Regions from separate parts of the Homo sapiens genome. Here all the other regions are linked to region 5. Evidence: promoter capture Hi-C in 16 types of primary human blood cells and fetal thymus (Javierre and others, 2016). All regions are on one chromosome and are shown on one strand. Each heading gives the region's core, a stretch centred on a gene start or on the middle of the fragment in contact. The rest is flanking DNA. Distances are from core to core; before and after follow the strand shown. Region 1 overlaps CLEC16A (C-type lectin domain containing 16A). Region 2 overlaps CLEC16A (C-type lectin domain containing 16A). Region 3 overlaps CLEC16A (C-type lectin domain containing 16A). Region 4 overlaps CLEC16A (C-type lectin domain containing 16A). Region 5 holds the start of PRM2 (protamine 2).

Region 1 (5,464 bases), core at 2,535-5,034, 190 kb after region 5:
GGATCAAACGCTTGTTAGTATATTTAATTGTCACGACCACCGTGTTTTATAGAAGAGGAAACCGAGGCCCACAGAGTTTCAGAAGCTCGGCCGAAGTCATACAGCTCATAGACGACAGACCCAGTCCTCAAACCCTGATAGATTCTGACTCCAGAGCACCTACTCTCACCATTGTGCCACGAACAAAAGGAAGGAAGGAACCAAAAGTTTTGGGGACAGGAACTGAAATCAGTTATGTTCAAATCTGTATTTGCAAAAACGTTCAAGGAAATGCTGGAAATGCCTGCAAGCCAGGGATTGGTTTAAGCATGGGCTTTTTTGTGTTTGTGTGTGTTTTTGTTTTTGAGACAGAGCCAGGCTGGAGTGCAGTGGTATGATCTTGGCTCACGGGAACCTCCCGGGAGGCTGTGATCCTCCCGCCTCAGCCTCCCAAGTAGCTGGGACTACAGGCTCCCACCACCACACCTGGCATGTGTGTGTGTGTGTGTGTGTGTGTGTGTGTGTGTGTGTGTTTGTTTTTGTTTGTTTTTTGAGACAGGTCTTACTCTATCGCCCAGACTGGAGTGCAGTGGTGTGATCTTGGCTCACTTCAGTCTTGACCTGCTGGGCTCAAGCGATCCTCCCACCTCAGCTTCCCAAGCAGCTTGGACTACAGGTGCATACCACCACACGTGGCTAGTTTTTCGTTTTTGTAGAGATGGAGTTTTGCCATGTTGCCCAGGCTGGTCTCGAACTCCTGACCTCAAGTGATCTGTCCACCTGCCTCCCAAAGTGCTGGATAAATTACAGGCGTGAGCCACTGTGCTTGGCCTAAGTGTGTTTTTAAGGAGCTTGTTTTCTGTCGATAATGGAGGGCTTCTGCACACTGAGTCCAAGCAGACCCTACAGTGAGAGAGGGCAGCCGACGGGGAAGCCTTCTGAGGAAGCAAACCCATGGCAGTCCCAGGGTGTCAGAACACCCCTGCTGAGTACCTGTTACTTAAGCACACCTTTCCTGCAAAGAAAAGTGGGGTAACTTACGAGGGGGAGCTCAGGCATCAAGTTCAGCTACCCGTGGGTTACCAGAAAGCCTAGCAGATCATCTGCAGCCTGAGTCATGGAACTTGAGCTTACACCTATCAGAGGCCTGCTGTGTTTCAGGCATCGTGCTCAAAGCTTTCCTGACAATTTTCCTCATTTTTCAGATGAAGGAAACCTGAGGCTCAGGTTAAGCCATGTGCTGAGGTCACCTGGTTGGCAAGCAGCAGAGGTAGCTTGAATGCTGGCGGTCAGACTCTGCGGAGTACCCATTTACCCACTAACTCTACCCATCTCCGAGCCAGCGCCCTTCCCTGTGCAGTGCCAGCCCCTCAGGACAGCCCTGCAGAGGTGGGGGAGGCCTGAGACTCAGTAGGTGCAGAAGGCTGCCAGGGCACACAGCCCCACCCGCCCTACGAGGTGAATCACAGCCTTCAGAGCATGCTCTTGCCTCTACCTGCTGCCTCTCAGGCGCCACTGGGGCCAGACCCGGGGGCATCCACCACAAAGTAAGGCTTCTTCATCAAGTGGCCGATACTGAATAGGCCTGTGAGCTTTTACTGAAAGCCACACACAACTTCCCTTTTACCCTTTGAAATAAGTGATATCATTTTCAACACCAGTTATCCATCTCCTGTGTCTTTTAATAGAAGCAGCTCATGGTGTGAGTTGGGGGAGATATAAACACAGGAGGGAAAACTGCTTACCTCACGTCTTTATGGAGAAAGGAGATTAGGCGCTTTAAAGGCAAAATCCTGGCTAGGCTTGGTGGCTCACGCCTGTAATCCCAACACCTTGGGAGGCCAAGGTGGGCGGGGTGCTTGAGCCCAGAAGTTTAAGACTAGCCTGGGCAACGTAGTGAGACCTCATCTCAAAAAATTAAAATAGGCTGGGCACCGTGGCTCATGCCTGTAATCCCAGCACTTTGGGAGGCTGAGGTGGGTGGATTACTTGAGGTCAGGAGTTCAAGACGAGCCTGGCCAACAAGGCAAGAAACCCTCTCTCTACTAAAAATACCAAAAAAAAAAAAAAAAAAAAAAAAAAATTAGCTGGGTATGGTAGCGCATGCCTGTAATCCCAGCTACTTGGGAGGCTGAGGCAGGAGAATCACTTGAACCAGGGAGGGAGAGGTTGCAGTGAGCCAAGATCACACCACTGCACTCCAGCCTGAACAACAGAGCGAGACTCTCTCTCAAAAACTAACTAAATAAAATAAAATAGAAACAAAAATCCAGAGAGCCTCCTAAAACACTGGACTGTAGATTCTCTGGACCTCCAGGCAGGATGTTAGGTAAGCGGGGAGTTGCGGAGAAATGTAATAGGAAAGTGGTCCACTGTGAAGGCTTCACACACAGGCTCCCCGGCAATGCTGCAGACAGCCATCAACATCACTCCGCTGCCTGAGGACATCTGGTATGGAAGAACTCCAGCTGGGTTGTCCATGGTCCCTTTCCTGACAATGGCCCCTAAGAATCATTCCATGAATCCACAAACACAGGAAAGTAACAGCCCATTCTTAAGCTCTTCTTCAACCCAAGAATTTCAAAGTGAAATTCTGACCACACTTGAGGTCCAGAGTTCGAGACCAGACTGGGCAACATAGCGAGTCCCTGTTTCTATTTTTTAAAAAAGTGAATGTCTGACAGCTCACTCCCATGACTGACGCAGCCTGGTCGTATGAGGCAGGTCCCCCTTCTGCGGTTCTTCCAGGGAACCAGAATGCAGGGGACGCATGATTCTACGCAATGGAGTGTTTGGTGGAGAACTAAATAAGCAAGCGTATTTCTGGGACTATTTTAAAATAAACAACGACCAAGCAGAGTTAGGAATGTCTAAACAGATATTCTGAGTGTAAAGGATGGTGGAGGTTTGAGAGAACACAGCTGTGTGGCCTCCAAACACACATGAAGGAGGCAGGAATTCCAACCGCTGGAAGCCTTTTCTGGCACCTCATTGATGAGCAAAGGCAGGGATGGAAAAAACGGAGCAGAGCACAGGGTTGACTGGTTTGGACCGGTGCCTGGCGGTGGCTGGGTGGGCCAGCCCATGCTGCGAGTCATGCCCAGCACCCCTCAGTAGGCTGCCCTATCATTCTTACAGATGCCATTTCCTGAGTCGGGCCCTTCCCTGGCCACCTGGGATATATGGGAAGAATTCCCATAGCCACTTCTGACCAGGTGACCAGGCGACCAGGTGGACATGCTCAGCAGATGGGTAAGCTTCTGCTCGTCATGCTGGCACAGATGACAAAGACCAACAGGGGCCAGTGTGGGACAGAGGGGAGGAACAGGCATTTCCCTGCGCTGTTGGCAGGAGGTTTGATGGGCAGCTTCTTTTATGGAGGGCAATTTGAGCAATTTCACAGCTAGGACTGCCTCCTGACAAAGTGCTGTGTTTGTGAACTGAGTTGCTAAAAGGCTGACCCCTCAGCGTTCTGTAACATGGACAATTGGACACAGCCAATGCATATCAACAAGGGTGATGCACAAGGGATGGTCCCTCGGGTGCTTCCATTTAATGCAATGACGGCAGATAAGCCCACCCTCATACCCTGATGTCCCGACGCAGGAAAACCCCACTTTAAAGTGCCAAAACCAAGTGCAGAACAAGATGTCCATGGTCCCATTCATGTAAAAACTACTGCTACTGTCATTCATTTAGTAAAAATTTAGTGGGTGTCTACTAAGTGCCAGGCCTGTGGCTGGGCTGGAGTGACCGTGGTGAACAAGACAGCCCGAGGCTATCCACCCAGAGGAATACGTATGTGTGCAGGTGCGAAGAGCTTGGTCCAGAAGGACACCCTCCCCCTCCCCTGAACGGAGGCTGGGAGTTCCTGCTGGAGAAGCAGGTGGCCTGGGGGGAAAGGGGGTACTGTGGGTGGCTGGGGAAATGGCAGGGCACTTTCACTTTTTACTCTACAAACTGCACTGTTTGAGCCTTTTACAATGTGAATATGTTTCTATATTACTTGGTAGCCTAACAAGTATGCCTTTAAACAACAAAAGGAAAACCCGAAATTACTAACTCAACGGCAGGACCCCCACCCGACTCAGCCCAGGACGGCGCCCACTCCATGGGTAAGTGATGGGTACAGATGGCAATAAGTAAGCCAATTTTCCAGCCAATGCTAAGGTTTTGATCTGGCAAACTTCTGGGTCCTGTGAAAGGAGCAGGGGTGCCAAGCACTGCCTCTAGCCGCACATCACAGCCCTCTCTGGAGAAGCTCTCCGCGCGTGGCTGGGGGCCTGGTGCACTTCCTGCCCGAGGCTGTGCACCAGATGGCACAAATCCCACTCCCTGAGAGCACCAAGCTTCCTACCCAGGGGTCGCCATGGGCCTTCCTTGGCGGCCTTCTTTGGGTGTGAGAAATACACCAAGGTCTTTCTGGGCCCATCCCCAACGAGGCTTTCACCCACACCCAGCTGAAGATGGTACACAGATAATGGCCCGGAAGCATCAGCCACAGCACCTGAAGCAGAAACATTTCAGATACCCTGGTGTGGGACAGACTGCCTCCCACCTGGCAAGGATGAGCTGGTTCTGTGGAGTCCTAGCTGTGGATGCTTGGGCTGGTCATGTGACCTCTCAGAGCCTCTGGCCTCAAAAGCATGAAACAAAGTTGTTAGCTGCTGCAGAAGTGCAGGAGGATTCCAGAGGATTTCTTTCATCTGATTCAGCAAGGGCCCAGTCAAGCACCTGGCACAGGGCAAGGCCACATGTGTGATCCGCACTGAGGGACTGGGGCTGTCAGCACAGAGGCCCCTTTCGAGACAGAGAGCCCCCAGCTGAGAGAAAGCTCTAACAGGGTGTTCTGTATGGAAAGAGGATCTGAAGGTAGCAAGAGCTCTGAAACTCTCAGGCTGCAGAGGCTTCAAAGGCTCTCAGACTTGTCCCAAGAGCTCCCAGGTGGAGGAGCCCAGGGCGGCTGCACAGCGGGGGAGCTCTGACCAGCTTCTCAGACACTTCCTGCCTCAAACTGGGTAGGCCTCCCCTCCCAGCCACCTTGTGTGGAAGCAGCACAGTGACCTGGCCAGCGACCTGGGCAAGCCCCGTCCTCCTCTCTGGGCCTCGGTGTACCCATGTAAAAGCTGACCGATGAGCTTGGGAACAGATGCAGAATCTGTCCAGCAGAGCTGCAGCCATTCCTGGTGATTGTGAGAAATAATTCATATCTGATTCTCCACCCTCCTGGAAGAAGTGTTGGTGAGGCAGATATAGAACTTCCTTGCCTGAGGCCAAAAAGAACCTGGGGTTGAATCCCACTTTTACTTGAATACTACTTTTACTCAAACACAGGGCTTAACCCAGCCTTCTAAACCAATGGTCTGCCAAGCAAAATCTGTCCACATTTAATATCTATAGGTAGCATAAAAAAACAAGTAGTAGTTTAGGTTTGTTCCACAAATTTAAAATTACAATACTGCATATTAAATGTGGTTTGTTAACT
Region 2 (5,436 bases), core at 2,774-5,273, 210 kb after region 5:
ACTGAGGAAAAAAAAATAGGTCCAGCAGACAGGTACCAATCAAATAATCAATACACAGGAAACAGCTACATCACCCTCTCCTTTAAAAGAACCAAATAATACTGCAATTGGATTTACTTAAAAATTTTCCACTTGAACAAAACTGACAGCTCTATTACAATCCCATTTCCAGTCAGTTTATAGGATACAAATTTCATTTCTCCATATTTCTACTTCATTTCTGAAAAGTGGCCAGCAACATTATTCATCAAGTACACAGGGAAGAAGTTTAATTCATAGAGAGGGGAAACATTGTGAATTCCATGTTTTCCATTTCCTTAGAGAATTGGTGGTTTAACTGAAACTTGATTTTTTTCCCAATCTGTCAAGTTCAGGGTGCCTGCCTCAAAGTGGGGTAAGGAAAAAGAAAAAAGAAAAAAAAGAGAAGAAAAGAGGAAGCATTTTAGCCCTTAGAGAGGTTAAATAATTTGGGGTAGCTCAAACGTTGAAATCAAAACAATCTACATTTTTAGAAAATGCCAAGATGGGTTTAAGATACTTGGTATATGTCATTAGAGGGGGACAAAAGTCTGCAGTGGGAACCTGACTATTCAAATGTATGTTAATGATGAACAAACATCATTTTTCTAACTCACAATCCAACTGCCTGAAATTACTCAAGATGAGATTTGGAAATGCTATTTCTATGTTAATGAAAGTCCTTCAGTGTTTATGAATAATTACAGTGACTGCTAAAGCTTTAATCAGTTCAATCCAAGAAGCCTTGAGTGTCTACTATGTGCCAGGCCCTGTGCCAGGCCCTAGGGATATACAGAGCGGTAAGCGCACATCTGAAATGTGCACAAGGCACGTGGAGCAGGAGGAAGGAGGCTGGGAGGGCCATCCAGGCAGGGGCGACAAGGGCAGGCAGGCTGTGTCCAGGAGCCTGTGAGCAGCCTGGGCACTGTGTGGGCAGATGCAGCAAGACATATGGGAGAAGAGGAGTGTCGTGGGTAGCTTGGGCCGCTGCACTGCGAGGATCTGAGAGTTTACAAGCAGGGACATGATGGCGGGTTAGGCGCCTTTTACATACTGGGCATCAGGATGGATGAAGCAGCGTGGCGCAAGGCCATGGGCTGGGGTAGAATGGGGGAGATACTGGGCAGGGGAGAGGTGTGGAGAGGCCAGACCAGGGATGGGGCAGAGCTGTGGAGTCCAGGGAGCTGATGATCCCCCGATCGTGAGGTTGGAGGAGGGTTGGGAGTGATTCCAAGTCAGCAGGTCGGGTGATGAGCAGCTGCTCCATTAAATGTCTACCTGTGGAGCGACCCCATGAGGACTGAGGACTGTGCTTCCTTTAAAGACAAAAACACGGGACCCCGGGGGTGGGGGCAGAGAACAGGCCAAAGTGCCACAAAACCACACTCGCCTTGCAATCCAACTCTTTGAATGCCATGTACATACTTGCCTCTTGGGTTTCATGTTAACATTAGTCCACTTCAGAGTCAGCACTAAGCAAACCGCTTCTCCAGGGCCCATGCCTGGATGCTTGAACTAAATTGCCCCCAAGGAGCCATCTGGGTCTGATTCAAGTTCCCACCCCATCCTGTGGTTTCAGCTCTTCAATCAGACGGCACCCACTTTCCTGAAAGTCATCTTTCCAAGAACCTTATTATCTAGTTAACAAGCCTGTGTTACCTCCTCTGCTTTTCAATGTGTCCCCTGGACAGAAGCAGTCACGAGGCTGTGCTTTGTTAGGATTCCGACAAAGAACCCTCCAAAGAGAACAGACATATTTCAGTGCCCAATATGCAGTCAAGAGGAAGAATTGTAATGACTGTTTCTATCACAAACACTTGTGTACACTTAGTGTGATGCTGAGTATTTCTGATGGACTTTTCTCTTTTAATCAACAGAACAGTCCTGAGGTAGGCACTATTAGACCCACTTTACAGATGAGGAAGAAAGGCTCAGAGAGGTTAACTAATTTGTCCAAGGTCACACAGCAGGAGTTAAAACCCAGGCTTTTCTAAATCTGGGGCTCCAGTTCCTAAACATTATACTCCCCATCTATTAAATGTTGGATTTTCAAGGACTGGATTATCTCTCTCTCTCTCGTCCCTTCCTTTTTATTTTGAAGATTTTCAAATTCTCATAAAAGTTTAAAGAATAGAATAGGCCAGCTGTGGTAGCTCACACCTGTAATCCCAGTACATTGGGAAGCCGAAGCAGGAGGATCACTTGAGGCCAGGAGTTGGAGACCAGCCTGGGCAACATAGAGAGACCCCATCTCCACAAAAAATAAAAAAATAGGCAGGCATGGTGGCACGTGCCAGTAGTCCCAGATACTACAGGCTGAGGTGGGAGGATCGCTTGAGGCCAGGAGTTCGAGGCTGCAGTGAGCCAAGACTGTGCCACTGCACTCTAGCCTGGGGGACAGAACGAGATCCCGTCTCAAAAAGAAACAACAGTGTAACAGACAAACATGTACCCTTCACCTTGATTCATCACTTGTTGACAGTGGGCTGCATTTGTCTGCTCTCTCATTATACCCGCACACACACACAGTTTTATCTTCTGAATCAGTCCAACATTATAGGCATCAGACACTTTACCCCTACACACTTCAGCCCATACTTCCTAAGAACAAGAACATACTCCCACAGAACCACAATGGCATTATCACACTCAAGAAAGATAATATTAGCCAGGCCAGGGGTTCTGCCTGTAGTCCCAGCTACTTAGGAGGCTGAAGTAGGACTGCTTGAGCCCAGGGGTTCAAGACCAGCCTGGGCAACACAGCGAAACCTCATCTTAAAAAAAAAAAAAAAAAAAAAAAAAATCAGCCAGGTGTGGTGGTGCACATCTGTAGTCCCAGCTAGTCAAGAGGCTAAGGTGGGATGATCACTTCAGCCCAGGAGTTTCAGGTTGCAATACTGCACTCCAGCCTGGGTAACACAGCAAGATCCCATCTCTTAAAAAAAAAAAAAAAAAAGAAACGTAATATTGACCTCAATTATATTACTCAATCACAATCCATATGCAAATGTCTTCAGTTTGCAGAAAAATGTCCTTTAAGGCTACTTTTCCCCCTCAATCTAAGATCAATCCAGGCTGACAACTGTCATGTCACTTTGTTTCAATTATCTAGAAACAGTACCCCTCTACCTTCGTCCCCCTCTTTTTTGGTCTTCCACAACATTTACATTCTTGAAAAACTCAGGTCGGCTGTCTTCTAGAATGTTCCGTATTCTGGATTTGTTTTTCATTGTCTTTCTCATTTATGCCACTCATTTTCACTAGGATGAGAGGCACATGACAATGCCTGGGTCATCAGCAAAATAAGCCAACACAGAGAATTTTCCAGAACTGACAGGACCACAAAACTAGTACTGGTTTTACAAGAGAAAGAAATCAATGAGCTCACATTTTCACAGACTGACAGTCAAACCACATACTTGCTTGGGGAGCTTCATAATACTTTTGCTGGAAACGAATCTCCAGGCAATCCGATGAAAATAGCCAGGGACTTCCACTCTGCCTAAAAGCTCTTGTCTGCAAAGAAGCTGGGGCGAAGCACGCAGAATGCTAGGAAGTTGGATCCTGCAGAATCTTTATGATATTCACATTAATCCGCAAATGAAGAATAAACAAACAGGGCGATGTGGTCAGGATTTCAAACATGGAGCAAGAATTTGGGGTACGGTTTTCGTGTGTGAGCTTTCATGGGCCTCGTGGTGCCCTCCAGTGTACTTGTGCTAGGGAACAAATGGTTTGCAGGTTGGGGTTGGTAAGAAGGCACAGTCAGAGCAAAGACTCTGAGGTGGGTACATGCCAGGTGTGTTTGAAGAAGAGCAAGGAGGCAGAGACAGGGAGGTGGTGTCACATAATAAGCCTCAGGGGTAAAGGTCTCTGTTTTTTATTCAGACTGGCATGGGAGCCCACTTTGAACAAATGAAGAACATGATCTGGCTTCTCGTTTAAAAGGAAGACAGTTCATGCTGCTGAGAATAAACTCTAGGGGACAAAACAGAAGCAAGTGACTGGGCAAGAGACTACTGCAATAATTCAGGTAAAAGATAATGGCACAGCTGGGTGCAATGGCTCATGAATGTAATCCCAGCACCTTGGGAGGCCAAGATAAGAGGAATGCTTGAGCACAGGAGTTTGAGACCAGCCTGGGCAACATAGTGAGATCCCATCTCTAGCTTAAAAAAAAAAAAAAAGGCCGGGTGCAGTGGCTCACGCCTGTAATCTCAACACTTTGGGAGGCCGAGGCGGGCGGATCACGAGGTCAGGAGATCGTGACCATCCTGGCTACACAGTGAAACCCTGTCTCTACTAAAAATACAAAAAAATTAGCTGGGCGTGGTGGCACGCGCCTGTAGTCCCAGCTACTCGGGAGGCTGAGGCAGGAGAATGGTGTGAACCCGGGAGGCGGAGCTTGCAGTGAGTGGAGATTGCGCCACTGCACTCCAGCCTGGGCAATAGGGTGAGACTCCGTCTCAAAAAAAAAAAAAATGGTGGCAGTTCAAACAAGGTGCTGGGAGAAGCTGGGAGAGAAGGTAACATCCTGACAATACAGTCGTCCCTCCATATCCATGGGGACTGGTTCCAGAACCCCTCAGAGGACACCAGAATCCACAGATGCTCAAGTCCTTCATATAAAATGGTGTCGTATTTGCATATAACCTATGCACATCCTACCACACACTTTAAACCATCTCTAGATTACTTATAATAACTCATACAATGAGATGGCTATGTAAATAGTTGTTATGCTGTACTGTTTTTAAAATCTGCTCATTTTGCATGGTTGTATTTTTTTGTTGTTGTTTTTTAAAAATATTTTCAGTCTGGGTATGGTGGCTCATGCCTATAATCCTGGCACTTTGGGAAGCTGAGGCGGGAGGATCGCTTAAGCTCAGGAACTTGAGACCAGCCTGGGCAACATAGTGAGACCCTGTCTCTACAAAAGATTAAAAAAAAAATCAGCTGGACATGGTGGCACGAAACTGTGATCTCAGTTACTCAGGAGGCTGAGGCAGCAGTAGGATTGCTTGAGCCTGGGAGTTGGAGGCGGCAATGAGCTATGATTGCACCATTGTATTCCAGCTTGGACGACAGAGCGAGACCTTGTATAAAAAAAAAAATAGTAATAATAATAGGCCAGACACAGTGACTCATGCCTATAATCCCAATACTTTGGGAGGCCAAGGTGGGTGGATTGCTTGAGCAGAGGAGTTTGAGACCAGCCTGGGCAACATAGTGAAACCCTGTCTCTACAAAATATACAAAATCTCAGCCGGGTGTGGTGGTGCATGCCTGTAGTCCCAGTTATTTGGGAAGCTGAGGTGGGAGAATCACCCTAGCCTGGGAAGTTGGGGCTGCACTGAGCCGTGATTATACCACTGTACTTCATCCTGGGCAACAGAGTGAAACCCTGTCTCAAAATAA
Region 3 (5,087 bases), core at 197-2,696, 240 kb after region 5:
GAAGGAGGAGAGGATTCTGCTAAGATGACAAGATTGCCTTCGCATGGTAAGCTCTGAAGAAATGGTGACCATCAGCCAGGCATATGACGTAGAATGCTTCATTTCATCCTCATGACATTCCATGAAGTGGCTAATAGTATTTCCATTTTATAGACGAGGAAGCTGAGGCTCAAAAAAGACATGAGCTTGCCTGGGGTCATGTGGAGAGTGGAAAGCCCAGCCCTGAATGCAGCCATGTGGCTCTTACCTCCCTCCTCTCTGCCGTGTACCATGATCCCCGCTGGTTAACGCTCTTTCCCTCCACCTTCCCAAGCTATGTATGTCATGTGATCTAGTGGTGTTCTTGGCACAAACACAACAGTCCATACATTTTTGCTGAATTAATTTTTTAAAAAGTTAAGTAGTTTTGATCAAATTTCGGGCAGAAGATTAGACAAATCTCAAAATGAAGGGGAAACATACGTAAAATAGAAGCCACCATATGACAGCTGTGCAAAAAAGCCCAACCATCACCCACACAGAAAACATGCTAGAAAGAAATACGACACTGTCAGCAGTTGGTTATTTTAAGGTGGTACTATCAAAGGCAAGTGAAAAAGCAACTTATTCTCATTTTTGTTTTCTATAACAATCATTGCATGACCATCACTGTACTTAGGATGGCATTTAATTTGTGGCGAACATTAGATTTAGGTTTAAGCCTCCTGCCTGAAACAACCTGGTGGCTGATGGTTCTGAGTGGCTAAGGTCAATGTCACCCTGTAACAGGGGCATGCATGTGAAAGGTAAGACGGCTCCTGTGTGCAAGGACATACACACAAACACACACACACACTCATACACACACAGACACTCATTCACACACGCATGCATACCCCGTGGTTTTTGGTCACAGAAAGGCAGGTTTTGCTGCAAACCCAATAGCTTCTTTGCCAGTCATTTCCCTCTGACAGAAATAAACACTGTGGATAATATATTATCCTATTTGCTTCAACTCTTAAGTGCTTTGTGACAGACAAATTCCAAAGAAACCCTGCTGCACTTCACGGGAGCACTAGCTCATTCTGGCTTCCAGCAGACCACATGTTCCCTGCCCCGCCCACAGCCCTGCCTTAGGGGTCAGAGCCTGAGCTGCCCACCGACTCAGAACGGGTGTCCCCTGTCCACCCGTGGACAGGGGTGGAGGGCGGAACTCTCAACTAACTCATTCAAAGAATCCAAAACAGAAGGGAAGGGTGTGGCCCCACAGTGTCAGTAACTCTTACTAAGCTTCCCTCTCAGTTCTGATATCTGGATTCTTCCCCCTTAGTAGTAGCCCCCATTTAGGGTAGAGAGGTAAAAGACCCAGACCAAAGATGCATAAGAATAATTAGACAGATCTGGATAAAGACACCACGAGAACACCAGGTAAACAGTTCAAACTTTTTAAAAACGTCTGTTGACCACACAAAGTCTCCTTGGCTGCAGTCACACAAGTATTACCAGCTTTGGAAGACTATAGACCAAAGATTTCGAAAGCTAACCAGATGTTGGGCCGATTTCCAATGTACTTCTAATTCTGGTTATGTGTCAGCCAAGATCCAAACTGACGTTGTGCAAGTTCTCCGCATGGCAAAAGCTTCCCTTTAGCCTATTACCTTTCAACCTTTTCCATATCGCTCATCCATGTTCCATTAACTTCTCAGCAAAACAAAACACAAAACACAAAGAGCCCAAGACTCCTTCTTCCTGGGTAAACAATGACAAATGGAGTGGCAGGAGTAGAAGGTTGGTCACTGAACTGGGGAACCTTCAAGATACAAAAGCTGTAAAACTCACCCCCATCCCTCCACCTCTGGCCCAGGACTCAGCGGACTTGATAGAAGAGCGAAGGCTGCATTTTCTATTACAGAAACAAACCAGAATTCATTATGTGGCCCAACTGAATCACAACAAGCGCCTTCCGCCAACCGGTCAACCCTTTCCACTGTGGGATATTCATTTCGGTGCAGCATCTAATCTATTATGATTACTGGAAGGCCTGAGCTCACATTTGGTTTTTATGAACGTGGCTTTTATGTTAAAATTGACTATGAGGAAAAAATCTATGAGAAAGAGACCAGGTCACTTGGGACCTGATTTGGGGGGTAAGGATCTGGAAAAGTGAGGCTGAAGGTCAAGTGCAGCCTGATCAGCTGCTGCATAACCAAAAACCAATCACTCAACCAACCTCCACCAGCAAAGCCCCACCAAATGCAGACTCTGTGCTCACAGGCCAGGACTGAGCATAAACCAGGTGGCAGCTCCCCCACGAGGCAGCTTCCCCAGGCACCTGGGCCTCAGGGCACCGGACTTGAACTTTTCCGTTTCTTCTCCAAACCTACTCCAAGGCCCATGCTTGTTAGTTCTGGAAATGGCACTATTGGTCACACAGGGAAAGGAGTCAGGAACCTGAGCCTTACCCAGGCTCCTCCCTTCATGCCCCCTCCTTTCAAATCAACCAGAACCCCTCACCCCTAGCCTAGTGACTCTCCTTGTCTCCTCATCCTAGTAAATGCACCCCCACCATTGCTCAAGCCAAATCACAGGAGTCATCTGACTCGTCCCTTTCACTCGACCCCTACATTCAATCCATCAGCACGTCCTGGCTCTAGCGCTGAAATAATCACAAGTCCTTCCAGTTTCCTCTACTCCCCAGCCAGCAGCCTAATCCAATCCACATTATCTCGCCTGGATGACTGCAACAGCTTCTTAGCAAGTCTCTCGGTGTTCCCTCCTGCAACTCATCCCCACCCCCAGTCATCTACTTTCTGTCTGGTAGCCAACGTTTCTTTTAAAAACTTCCATCTGACCACATCACTGTCCTACTTAAAAATTCGGTAGGGGTTTCCCATTGCACTTGGAGAAAAAATGGCAATTCCTCTTCAGGGCCTTCAAGGCCCTTCATGACCTGGCCCCTGCCCGCCTGGCCAGCCTCACCTTGGCCCACTTTCTGCTCCTTCCCACCCCGGGGCCTCTGTACATGCTGCTCCCTTCACCTGGAGGACTCTTGCCCCAGGTCTTTGCAGAGCTGGCTCCTTCTCACTCTCTGGGCTGTGGCTCTGCTGGTCCTTCCTCAGAGGAGCCCTCCCCGACCACCCTGACTAGCACCTAGTAACCCCTGCAGCACAACCACTAGGCTTCCTCATCACTCCACCCTGTTCATTTCCTTCTACCATTTGTCACAGTCACAATTAATCTTCTTGTTCACTTCAGTGAGACTCATCTGGGCTTGTTTGAGTGCCTATGACGGGGCCTTGCCCTGGCAAGCGCTCAGCAAGTATCTGCTGAATGATAAGAAAGCCTCTCAGTTTCACCTCTCATCCCTCCCACCCGCTGGCTGAATTACTGCAAACCCATTCTGAGAGGTGCAGAGTGGGTCAGCTCACTAACTGACCAACTGCCCCCCAGCAGCCCCACACGGCTCATAGGAACACAGTTCAGTCGCTGCCTGTGCCACCCCCTGCAGACTGGCTCCAGATGCCTGCCTCTTGGGGCACCCGCTGCCTCGGACATGCTGCCACTCACCCTAGGGAACGGGCAGTGATCTGATGGATATGCCACAGGCTCTCATGCCCCTTCTTGCTCTGTCCTCTACCATAGCCCGGGTGTCCTCAGGAAACGGGTCCTCACTCCTGCGGGCAGAGTCCATGCTCACCACCAGGCAAGTGACCCTCTATTGTGCTGACAGCCTCCTCGTAGGACTTTTCTGTCCAAGAATGACTGATGCTTTCTTGGGCAAGGGCCTGGGTTGGTCTGCCTGGAGTTTGTAGTCCCCATGTTGAGCACACTGCCTGGCACACGGCCGGTGCTCCACATGCATTTGCTGAATAACTAATTACATGAGGAAATTCATCAGAAACTGCAAGCTATTCCTCCTGATCACTTAAGCCTCCAAGAGGCCTCTCCTGATTGCTCAGGCGGATGTAGTACCCTCTACCCTCAGCCTGCCCCACCGCATTACCTAGTTTTATTTTCACTGTTGCACTTCTCGCTACATGGGATTATTTTACTTGGTTACTAGTTTACTGTCTGTCTCCTCTAAGAGAATCCAGATTCCATGAAAGCATTTGTTTGCTTCACCACTGCATCCCCAATACTGATCCCAGTGCCTGGCATCTAACAGGGGCTTCCAAAATATTTGTTGGAAGAATGAATGAATCAATACATGCATAGCATTAGCAGAAAATGGGAGAAGGAATTCAATTTCCTTGAATATACAGTTCTACTCTTCCAAGAAGAAATTCCCAAGAAAAAGAGGTAGGATGCCCAGGCGGGAACACAGGTGAGTGGTCTCTCCAGCGCATAAGATGGATGAAGGTGCATGGCAGCACACCCAGTAAGCCATGACGTCTCTGCTCCCCGTACAGGTCAGGGCTGCAGGAAGGAAGCCCATGGAGAACACCAGTCACCAAGATGAGGAGCTTGCCCACTGTCCCATGGAGCCTGGCATCTACACCACACAGACAGCACCTTCTTTGCTGAAGCCCTGAGCTACAAGCTGCCAGGAAGAGATGGCCTTGGGGACGTGCCACATAGCTGAGCAGCAACCAATCAGCAAACTCTGGCTGAGCACTGACTGAGTGCCAGGCGGTAGGCTGGGTACTGCAGGGAGCACATGGTTTCTGCCTTCCAAGGCCTAGCAGTCCAGAATGGGAGAGAAAAAATACAGAGAAAAGGCGGTATTAAAAAGTGCCACAGGAACCTCATGGAGATTAAAAAACATCTGGTCTTCCCAAGATGTTGTTATGAAAATGAAAAGACATGCCACAGACTTGGGGGAAATCATTGCTAAATGCCTCTGATAAAGGACTTGCATTCAAAATACATAAAGAACTCTCGAGGCTGAGGCGGGTGTATCACTTGAGGTCAGGAGTTCGAGACCAGCCTGGCCAACAGGGCGAAACCCTGTCACTACTAAAAATACAAAAATCAGCCGGGCGTGGTGGCGCACACCTGTAGTCCCAGCTACTCTGGAGGCTGAGGCAGGAGAATTGCTTGAACCTGGGAGGCGGAGGTTGCAGCGAGCCAAGATTGCACCATTGCATTCTGGCCTGGGCAACAGAGTG
Region 4 (5,400 bases), core at 620-3,119, 230 kb after region 5:
AGCATCATGAAGCAACACATACACATCTGTCAGAACCAGTCCTCCAGTGAAAGCTGATGCCAGGACGTCCAGTGCAAACACTGCCACCCACAAACAGAATCGTGTGCCTGGCAGGGAGGACATGGAAGGAAGGCGTCAGTGGGCCGGACAGGGTGGGTCCTGCGGTGAGGCTTGTGGGTTTGGTCAGACAGTTGGAAATGTGGATTGACTCAAGACACATGGGTCCCACTTCCTCTGCACCCCCAGGCTTCCGAGGTAGAACCACCAGCTGCAGGGAGGAAGGTTCAGACTCCTCGTGTCTGAGGTGCAAATGACAGGTCATTCCTGTTTTGCAAAATCCAAAAGTGAAACACCTCTGTCACACACGAATTAACTCAGATGATAAAGGCTGACAAGGGGAGCTGTGTGCAATGAATTCCTCTGAACTATACACAAATACTCATGTCTCCAGTGAATGATTTTCTAGGAAAAGGTGATGGTGCTTTCTAAGAAAGAAACTCTGATCTTACCCGGGAGATAAAATACCATGAACACCCCTGAGGACACTGCTTCCTAGAGTACCTGCTTCGGAAAAAAAGGGCTGATAACGGAAGCACACACTGCAGCTGGTTCTGAGAACTAATCTTTTCACACATATCTGTCCTGCAGGCTGGTGAGATTCACATTTAATTTGACTGTGTCCCAAGAGCAGGTAGATGCCTTAACATCGCACTATCTCTGGGGGTCCTGAGACCGCTGGGCTACGATTTCACACCAACCTCACCTGCACTGGATGTACCGTGCTCACCCCCGATGGTTCACAGAAAACTGGCCCCATTGCCTTACACTCCTGAGCTCAGGGCTTGTCTGTCTGCACTGGTGAAGGCTACCTCTCTGCAGCCAACACTGGGTGCCAGATGCAACGGAATGCCAAACCCTACTTCCCAAAGGGTAAAAACATGCCTTGGAAAGTCATGCCTGGGGGCAAATGGGTACTCTCTATCCACTGTCTAAGCTGTGTTGAGGGCAGGCTCTTGACTTTGACAAAGAAGCCCTTTCCTCCCTGGTCTGGGAGTGGTTCTGGAGAACAGTGGCCCAGGAGATGACAGGTCCTGTGCTCACTCACCCGCCGGGTCTTCTCCACATCGCCACACGGCAGCCGCTTCACGAAGTCAATGCCCGTCAGTGGCGTGCCTGTTGGGGGCAGCAGGATGGAGGCGTCCATCATGAGATATTCCACGTTCATGGGCTTCATCTAGAAGAGACATTACAGGAAACCTCAAAGCAGATTCCTTACTTGGAAGGAGGAAGGGGCCGGGGGAGGTTGCACAGGCCCCTCGCCTTCAACCGCATTTAGTAAATGTAAATGAGTGATCTAAATCCTGGATTTAGATTGAAGTAAAGCACAGAGGCAGCCAGATAAGGGAGCAATATGCCTTTTGGTTTTCTAAATTGCAGATTTTTCCTTTAATTGAAGCAGCAGCTCAGACTCTTGAGAAGTTGCATCCTTGCTGTGAAAAGCTTGCTCCTCTTCGCATTCTCTCTCCACCTCAGCAGGGACAGGGATTCTCAGCAGGAGGCCAGGTATGCTTTATCCCTGTGGGTGCAAGCCCGTCTGCCACCTGCTTCCTCCTCTCTGTCCTTCCAGTGATGATAACAGCTATGGCGATGGCAGCTTCCGTTTAACGAGAGCTGATTCCGCTGCAAGCTGTGACCTAAGGGCTTTTGAGGAGCTGCTTCCCACTTTGCTGATGAGGGAACACAGTCTCAGAGAAGCAGAAAAATGGATCCAAGGTCGCTCAGCTGGTGGGTGGCAGAGCCAAGACATGAGCCCAGGCCTGTCTTGCTCCAGGGCCTCTGTGATTCCCACCCTAGGACCAATGTTTCCCCTTCCTTCCTTGTCCCCTTCACATCTTACCTGGGATAATATAACACAATCATTATTGGAGCATCTACTAAGTGCCAGGCACGTGCTGGGATCACCTCCTGCTGGACGGCAGGTGCTGGTGGGCCCATCATAAAAGGGACACTGAGCTCAGAGGAGGAAAGGCGCATGCCCACGGCCACTGGGCCAGAGCTGACGGCCTCTTTCCACACCACCTCTGCGAAGCCTTCTTTGAGGACTAAGACACAGGGTGACATCCCCTCCCTGCCACCTCTCCCAGATCTCTGCTGCATCAGTAGTAGTAATCAATGCACACGTGTTGTTGAACACTAACATTTCATTTCCCTGGCTTCACAGACGAAGGGTAAGCTTTCTGCAGAATTCATTTTACTCTTTCAAACATCACAAGCTTTCCTTGTGTCTTCTCTTTTCAGAAAGTGGGCTTCAAACATACCACTTTCCCCCTCCTGCTAGGTAAAGCTGACTACATAGGGCAGGGATGTAGCGAGGGCTCAGTGGCCCAGATACCTGGTGCTATGGTTTGAACGTGTCCCCCATAGTTCATGTGTTGGAAACTTAATCCCCAGTGTGACAGTGCTGAGAGGTAGGGCCTAACAAGACGGGATTGGGTCTCATGAATGGAGTAATGTTGTTATTGCAGGTGTGGCTCAATGATGGTGAGAGTGACTTTGTTATAAGAGTGAGTTCTGTTCCCTCTTGCTCTGTCTTGCCCTTTCGCATTCTACCATGGGATGATGTGGCAAGAAGGCCGTCGCCAAATGCTGGCACCTGATATTGGACTTCCCAGCCTCTAGAACTGTAAGAAATTTCTTTTTTTTATAAATTAAGTCTGTGGTATTCTGTTATAGCTGCAGAAAACATACTGAGACACCCGGTGAATGGGCCAGAGGGCCAAGGAGCCACTTGGTGCATGCTGCTTGCCTTCTTCTTTTGGACACTTTAAGTACTTTCCTCCAGAAGCCTGAGGTCCCCCACTCCAAATCCTCTAACCCCGCAGGGGTGGCAGTTCCTGCCTCACTCATTCACTTGCAGCTCCCTTCCCCTCTACTCCTGCTGCCCCCTACAACCTTCCCAGTGAACCCCTCAGGCCTGCTGGGGGCAGAGCTAGGCCATCACCTCACTGAACCTTTTGCATTAAACCAGAGGCAATAAGGGAAATGAAGGAAAGGTCACAAGTCATGGTCTGACTTTGGTACAGCAGCTGGCCTTGGAGGGCCTGTCCCCACCCCCTTCCACTCAGAAGCTGCATTCCTGAAGGCTGAGGACTGATTTTCAGATACAGAGCAAGGGCGTGGCACCTTTGTATTTCTCTGGAATGCCAGGCATTGTATAGGACACACAATACATGTTTGATTAAAACAAACAAACAAACAAACAAACAAAAAAACCTGGGAAGCTCCCCATGGTGGGAGGGGGAGGAAGTATTTGTTGTGTATAGACCCATGAGTATTTGTTGTTGTGTATGGACCCATGAGGCCTCTTGTTGGCTATTTCATATACAGCCTGGGTGGCTATGAGGTAGGGATCCCCCACCTTACGGATTTAAAAAAAAAAATTGCCAGGTGCGGTGGCTCACGCCTGTAATTCCACCACTTTGGGAGGCCAAGGCGGGCGGATCACGAGGTCAGGGGTTTGAGACCAGCCTGGCCAGCATGGTGAAACCCCGTCTCTACTAAAAATACAAAAATTAGCTGGGCGTAGTAGTGGGCGCCTGTAATCCCAGCTACTCGGGAGGCTGAGGCAGGAGAATTGCTTGAACCCAAGAGGCAGAGGTTGCAGTGAGCCGAGAACGCACTACTTGCACTCCAGCCTGGGCGACAGAGCAAAACTCTGTTCGAAAAAAAAAAAGAAAAAAATCAAGGCTCAGAATTTCAGCAATGCACTCAAGGTTGCATTGTCAAAAGCAGACACTGAGCAGGGGTTTAAGAGCTCAAGCTTTCCCACATGGTCAAGTGCCATAGAAGCCTGACATTTCCAAACAGGAAACCAAACTGTAGGAAATGACATTGCAGGGGGATGTCTCGGGGGTAAGAGGAAATAACAAATGACAACTGAATCCCTTCCACTCTAATGAATGGTCTGAAGGGTGGAAGACTGAGCCTCTCTCGAAGGGGCTGGAGGAATGATGAGGGGCTGTAGATGAGCAGCCCACGGGGGCCTGGCACAGGGTGCTGCTGGGGTGTTTCTGGAGATGACTTATGCCAATTTACACCTTTCCCCTGAAAAGGCTCCACGGCAGCCTCAGACATGCAGTGACAAAGGACGTGGTGAGGGCCCAGCTGTCCCGATTCCTAGGGAATGGGCTGCGAAGCCAAGGAGCCAATTAGTGCACGCTGCCTTTTTCTTTTTGACACTTAAAACACTTAGGTTTATTATAAACTTCCCAAATCACACATGCTTTGGTGGGTAATATCCACAAGAAGGATCACTTATCACGTACTTATGGAGTACCTAGCCAAGGGCAGGTGCTGGGATAACAGAGACAAACGCGCAAAGCAGAGAAAGCTGGGATCTTCTGAACCTATGGCTTCCCGCGATTCTGCCTGCGGGAGGAGGAAGGAAGCCCATGTGCTGGCACTACAGACTGGAGGGAGAGCTGCATGCTGAAACATTCCAGTGGAGCAGCAAACAGGGAGGCAGGGACATAATACATGGAGAAGCACGGGGGATGCGGGGCTGGGCTGTCCTCCTCTAGAAGCGTGGCTCTGCCACTCACCGGCCGGGCAGACTTGGGTACATCACTAGACCTCTCTGACTCAGTTTCCTCATTAGCAAGTGATATGGTTTGGCTCTGTGTCCTCACCCAAATCGCACCTTGAATGGTGAGACACATGAGAATCCCCACGTGTCAAGGGCAGAACCATGTGCCGGTAACTGAATCATGGGAGCAGTTTCCCTTATACTGTTCTCATGATAGTGAGTAAGTTCTCATGAAATCTGATGGTTTTCTAAGCATCTGGCATCTTTTCTCCTTGCACTAATTCTCTCTCCTGTCACCCTGTGAAGAGGTGCCTTCCACCATGATCGTAAGTTTCCTGAGGCCTCTCCGGCAATGTGGAACTGTGAGTCAATTAAACCTCTTTTCTTTATAAATTACCCAGTCTTGGGTATTTCTGCGTAGCAGTATGAGAAGAGACTAATTCAGCAAGAAAGGGACAATGGCAGTAGCTATTACCGTTGGTTGGTGTGAGGATGAAGAGATATAATCTGTACAGCATGCTATATACATCCAGCACAGAGTAAGTCCTCAATAAAATGATACTGTCCCCAAAATTACTATTCATAGCAGAGAATCATCCTGATTCATCGGACACCTCCCATGTTAGAGGGAGAGAATATAGTCTGAAATTTTAACAGTGGTGGGGATCACAAGACACCATTCTAAATCTGCTTCCCCATCAATCTGTGCTATTTGGTCACAAAGCCCTAAGTCAAAAAACTCCCTCTGGGATGGGCAGGGGGAGCTTGGCAGGGACACAGGCGCACACCAGCCCAAGTGTGTCCCAGCCCCTCAC
Region 5 (5,152 bases), core at 1,340-3,839:
CTCAAGCGATTCTCCTGCCTTGGCCTCCCAGAGTGCTGTGATTACAGGCATGAGCCACTGCACTCACCTACGGTGGGTATCAACAACCATGTTCTTTCAAGTGAGCACATGAGAGTTCAGTGCTAGCCCTGGCACTACCATGACCCTGATCACTTTAGCAATGACTCCCCATAACACACTCGGATCATGATAGCAGCTTGGCTGGACAGGCAGACCCCTGGGTGTGCCTTTTTTTTTTTTTTTTTTGAGATAAGGGTCTTGCTCTGTCACCCAGGCTGGAGTGCAGTGGTGTGAACGTGGCTCACTGCAGCCTTGATCTGTGCTCAAGCAATCCTCCCATCTCAGCCTCCTGAGTAGCAGGAACTACAGGCACATGCCACCATGGACCCAGGCTATTTTTTTTATTTTTTGTAGACAGAGCCCTCACTATGTTGCCCAGGGTGGTCTCAAACTCCTGGGCTCAAGTGATCTTCCCACCTCGGCCTCTCAAAGTGCTGGGATTACAGGTGTGAGCCACCACACCCAGCCCCTTCCTATGTTTATTTTATTTTATTTTATTTTTTTAGACGAAGTTTCGCCCTTGTTGCCGAGGCTGGAGCGCAATGGTGCCATCTCAGCTCACTGCAACCTCTGCCTCCTGGGTTCAAGCAATTCTCCTGCCTCAGCCTCCTGAGTAGCTGGGATTACAGGCGCCCGCCACCACTCCCGGCTAATTTTTGTATATTTAGTAGAGACAGGGTTTCACCATGTTGACTAGGCTGGTCTTGAACTTCTGACCTCAGGTGATCCACCCGCCTCAGCCTCCCAAAGTGCTACGATTACAGGTGTGAGCCACCGAGCCCTGCCCCGCCCCTTCTTATTTTCATCTGCAAGCTTTGGCCATGGAGATTTGACTTAGCGGGACGTAGGGTAAGGCCTCAGCATTCATATTTTTAACACGCGCCCTCGAAGAGCTTGAGGGCCATCATAAAGGACCTTCTTATCCCTAAAGAGAGGCAGCATAGAAACACCAAGGGCATGGCAATATCACCCATCACCTCCTGTAAGGATCTGAAGATTAAGCCTCCTGAATTTGTTTCTTATTGCCACTGTGACAGATCATCACAAATTTTGTAGCTTTAAACAACATAAATGCATTATCTTACAGGTCTGCAGGTCAGAATTCTGAAAGAAGTCTCATGGGGCTAAAATCAAGGGGTCAGCAGGGCTGTGTTCCTCCTGGATGCACGAGGGGAGGATAACCCATTTCCTTGTCCATCCCAGCTTCTAGAGGCCGCCTGCATCCCTTGGCTTATAGCCTCTCCCTCCATCTTCAAAGCCAGCAGTGTGGTGTCTCCCAGTTTCTCTTCCTGTGACCCTCCTGCCTCCCTATTCTCTCTTCTAAGGACCCTCGTGACTGCACTGGGCCAACCCAGATCATCTGGGATGATCTCTGCATCTTCAAGTCCTTAAATTTGTGTATCTGCCACATTCCCACATTCTCCCTGCCCTCCATGAAAGGGAAACTGGTTTTGCAGTTTCTGTGATTCTGATCCCGGACTTTAATGGGATCATCAAAGTTCAATGAGAAGCCCCGGCAAGGCCGAGCGGGAGGGGAGAAGATGAATATTTTGGAGGCGGAGAGGGGAGCATTCCCTGGGCTAGGGAGGAGGTGGAGAGCCAAGGGTATGACTAAAACCAGGCTGTCTCCGTCTGAATGCTGGCCCGGCCTGGCCTTCTCAGCAGAGTGGCCTTGAGCAACTCAACTTCTTCATGCCTGTTTGCCCCACAGAAAATGAGGATTGTAAGAGTGAGGAATGCAAGGGTGGTGGCTCACACCTGTAATCCCAGCACTCTGGGAGGCCGACATGGGAGGCTCACTGAGGCCAGGAGTGTGAGACCAGCCAGGGCAACATGGTGAAACCCTATCTATCTCCACAAAAAATACAAAAAATTAGCTGGGAGTGGCAGCACACGCCTATAGTCCCAGCTACTCGGGAGGCTGAGGTGGCAGGATCATCTGAGCTGGAGGGGTAGAGGCTGCTATGATCCATGATTGCACAACTGCACTCCAGCCTGGGCGACAGACAGTGCCTCAAAACAAAAAGAGGAGAGAGAGAGAGAGAGAGAGAGAGAGAGAGAATGAGTGAATGTATGGGAAATAAATGAATCAATGCTTGGCACATAGGAGCTATTAGGGAACTGTTTGCTGCTGTTGCCATCTTAACAGTAAGCTGTGTGCACAGAGATCCAAGCACGGAAGTCCCTTCCACATGGTGGCTGTGGCACAGCAGTGAGTTGGCAAGGAAGCTTCCAAATGACAATGTGCGCACCCACCGGCTTGGGGAGATGAGGGCTTGGATTAGGCAATAAAACACCTGCCATCTGTATGGTTCACCTACTGCAAGAGACAGAGGACATGCTTTACAGGCAAGGCAAGGGGGTCTCTCGCCCTTCCAGCCCTGCAGCTTGGGTGCCAGGGCCCTGCTAGTTGTGACCCCTGGCCCTGTGCTGCCCTCACAGAGGAGGCTGGGCAGGGTGGGGACTGGGCGGGGCCGCAGAGTCATAGTGGGCGCCCCCTTTATATACAAGCTCCCGGGGAGCCTTGCAGACCAGACCAACAGTAACACCAAGGGCAGGTGGGCAGGCCTCCGCCCTCCTCCCCTACTCCAGGGCCCACTGCAGCCTCAGCCCAGGAGCCACCAGATCTCCCAACACCATGGTCCGATACCGCGTGAGGAGCCTGAGCGAACGCTCGCACGAGGTGTACAGGCAGCAGTTGCATGGGCAAGAGCAAGGACACCACGGCCAAGAGGAGCAAGGGCTGAGCCCGGAGCACGTCGAGGTCTACGAGAGGACCCATGGCCAGTCTCACTATAGGCGCAGACACTGCTCTCGAAGGAGGCTGCACCGGATCCACAGGCGGCAGCATCGCTCCTGCAGAAGGCGCAAAAGACGCTCCTGCAGGCACCGGAGGAGGCATCGCAGAGGTCTGCCTGCGCCCCCGCCTTGCCCTGCATGTCCCTGACCACCCCAGGCACAGGAGGGAGGCGGGGACCCACCCCACCTGACAAAAGCTCCAGCCCCCTAACCCCCGTCCCCACCCAGAGTCCCTAGGTGACCCCCTCAACCAGAACTTTCTTTCCCAAAAGGCTGCAGAACCAGGAAGAGAACATGCAGAAGGCACTAAGCTTCCTGGGCCCCTCACCCCCAGCTGGAAATTAAGAAAAAGTCGCCCGAAACACCAAGTGAGGCCATAGCAATTCCCCTACATCAAATGCTCAAGCCCCCAGCTGGAAGTTAAGAGAAAGTCACCTGCCCAAGAAACACCGAGTGAGGCCATAGCAACTCCCCTACATCAAATGCTCAAGCCCTGAGTTGCCGCCGAGAAGCCCACAAGATCTGAGTGAAACGAGCAAAAGTCACCTGCCCAATAAAGCTTGACAAGACACTCGCTGGCCTGTCGGGTTTTCTTTGCACGAATCACACAAACCTGGCTTCCCTCACGCCCAGGGCGGGTAGAGGCTTCTCTGCAGCCCTTCCTCAGAGGCAGGTAGGGCGGGAGTTCTGATGCTCTCAGGACACCTAGGAGAGGGTTACTGTGCCTGGGAGGCCACCCTATGATGCTGTCCTGTCTATTGTGCATCCTTCCATGGTGTCAAAGGCCACATTAGTCTGTCTGGATCCCCCTCCAGTGAAGAACCTGATCCTACCTCATGAAAGGAGAAAATGGTTAGAACAGATCGAGTCCTAATTAAGTCACAAAGATGCCAAGGCACCTTGTGGCCATATTTAAATGCCTACTGTGTGCCACAGTTTAAAAACACAACCCATCTTGAGTGTTGGGTGGTTGGAAGTGTAAACGGTGGGGGCAGAGGTGGGGGCACTGCTCAGTGCAGGCCACAGCTTCGAGGTGGGAAACAGGTCTGGCATGCTCCAGCAACAACTTGGTCAGCACAGAGACGGCAAAAGGCAAGGAGTAGATGAATGCAGAGTAATGGGCTGCGCTGTGTGAGGCCTGTGCTGGCTGAAGCCTCTGGAGACCCAGGCAGAATCCGATCCTTGTTGCCTGCTCTCCTCGGCCTGTGGCTGCATCACTCCTCCCTCCTGTCTGAAATCAAGGACCCTTGTGATTGCACTGAGGGACTTTCTGGACAACCCAAGATAACCTCCCCATCTCACAATCCTTACATCATAGATTCCAGGATCAGGAAGGGGGCACTTCGGAGAGTGCCAACCTTAGCCAACCATAGCCACTGAGGACTGGGGGGATAAGACTGGCAAGATCCAATCCATATGTTGGCAAATGGATTTCTGGTGCTCAGAAATGACCAATCTTTAGGAAGCAACGAGTTTCTGAAAACAAAACAACAACAACAAAAAAAAAAACAGACGGAGTTTCGCTCTTGTCACTGGGGCGGTGTGCAGTGGTGCGATCTTGGCTCACTGCAACCTGCACCTCCTATGTTCAACTGATTCTCCTCCCTAACCTCCTGAGTAGCTGAAGGAGCTAAACAAATTTTTTTTTTTTTTTTTTTTTGGTATTTTTAGTAAAGACATGGTTTCACGATGTTGGCCAGGCTGGTCTCGAACTTCTGACCTCAGATGATCTGCCTGCCTCGCCTCCCAAAGTGCTGGGATTACAGGTGTGAGCCACCACGCCTGGCCTCAAAAAATTTATATTTAAAAAATACCATTGCAGTGTACAAACGACTCATTTCAATGTATAAAAGACAAAGTCCTAAACCCCCTCCCCCCATGCTGAAATTGTGCTGCACAGATGTGGAACCTTGCCAAGGGGCAGCTCCATGATGTCTTCTCTGTGGCCCCAAAACACTTAAGAGGATGTCACTCCACCCTGACCTGGGTAGAGTGGCCTCTGGTTGGTGGTGTCCATCTTGCATCAGTCAGGGACAAAGCAACCCCTTGTTCATCCCAGCTTGGTTTCTGGCCTGTTCCCATGCCTTGGACAAACAAACAATGCTTAGGAGCCATTGCCTTTCAAGAAGATTTCACACTTTCAGGCCCCCGAAGGAAGACTTCCAAGGGTTCCTGAGTTTTATGAGCTTACAGAGTGCATACATTTTAAGCACACAGCTTGATGATTTATTTCCAAGGGTTAACAGTCAAGAAACTCAACAGAGACAGCTCTCTCTGGCTGGCGATTTCTGGG

Evidence for each region. The method cuts DNA at HindIII sites, captures the fragments that hold promoters and counts their contacts. A CHiCAGO score of 5 or more calls a contact.
Region 1: a fragment that was not itself captured here is called in contact with the fragment with the promoter of PRM2 in region 5 in 2 of 17 cell types (total CD8 T cells and activated CD4 T cells); the score reaches 5.7 in total CD8 T cells.
Region 2: a contact is called between a fragment that was not itself captured here and the fragment with the promoter of PRM2 in region 5, in 1 of 17 cell types (activated CD4 T cells). The highest score is 9.0, in activated CD4 T cells.
Region 3: a contact is called between a fragment that was not itself captured here and the fragment with the promoter of PRM2 in region 5, in 5 of 17 cell types (activated CD4 T cells, total CD4 T cells, naive CD8 T cells and 2 more). The highest score is 13.3, in activated CD4 T cells.
Region 4: a fragment that was not itself captured here is called in contact with the fragment with the promoter of PRM2 in region 5 in 9 of 17 cell types (activated CD4 T cells, erythroblasts, naive CD4 T cells and 6 more); the score reaches 13.9 in activated CD4 T cells.

The regions. Positions count from the first base shown.
Region 1 is chr16:11,087,410-11,092,873 of GRCh38, reverse strand. All of the region lies in intron 19 of CLEC16A (C-type lectin domain containing 16A), which reads right to left. Among named protein-coding and RNA genes, the nearest start is that of CLEC16A, 150 kb to the right of the region's middle. RefSeq lists an enhancer at 1,373-1,462. The HindIII fragment of the contact is 1,092 bases long and covers 3,239-4,330 here.
Region 2 is chr16:11,069,139-11,074,574 of GRCh38, reverse strand. All of the region lies in intron 19 of CLEC16A (C-type lectin domain containing 16A), which reads right to left. Among named protein-coding and RNA genes, the nearest start is that of CLEC16A, 130 kb to the right of the region's middle. The HindIII fragment of the contact is 6,568 bases long and covers 740-5,436 here.
Region 3 is chr16:11,030,675-11,035,761 of GRCh38, reverse strand. All of the region lies in intron 13 of CLEC16A (C-type lectin domain containing 16A), which reads right to left. Among named protein-coding and RNA genes, the nearest start is that of CLEC16A, 89 kb to the right of the region's middle. The HindIII fragment of the contact is 349 bases long and covers 1,272-1,620 here.
Region 4 is chr16:11,047,347-11,052,746 of GRCh38, reverse strand. CLEC16A (C-type lectin domain containing 16A) reads right to left here. Exons shown (of 24, transcript NM_015226.3): 18 at 1,106-1,234. Among named protein-coding and RNA genes, the nearest start is that of CLEC16A, 110 kb to the right of the region's middle. RefSeq lists enhancers at 99-248, 1,261-1,838, 1,839-2,415. The HindIII fragment of the contact is 733 bases long and covers 1,503-2,235 here.
Region 5 is chr16:11,273,917-11,279,068 of GRCh38, reverse strand. PRM2 (protamine 2) reads left to right here and starts at 2,589. Exons shown (of 2, transcript NM_002762.4): 1 at 2,589-2,969; 2 at 3,132-3,430. The coding sequence starts at 2,699. The coding sequence ends at 3,169. All of the region lies in intron 1 of LOC105371082 (a long non-coding RNA gene), which reads right to left. It also overlaps the pseudogene LOC124900380. The HindIII fragment of the contact is 881 bases long and covers 2,292-3,172 here.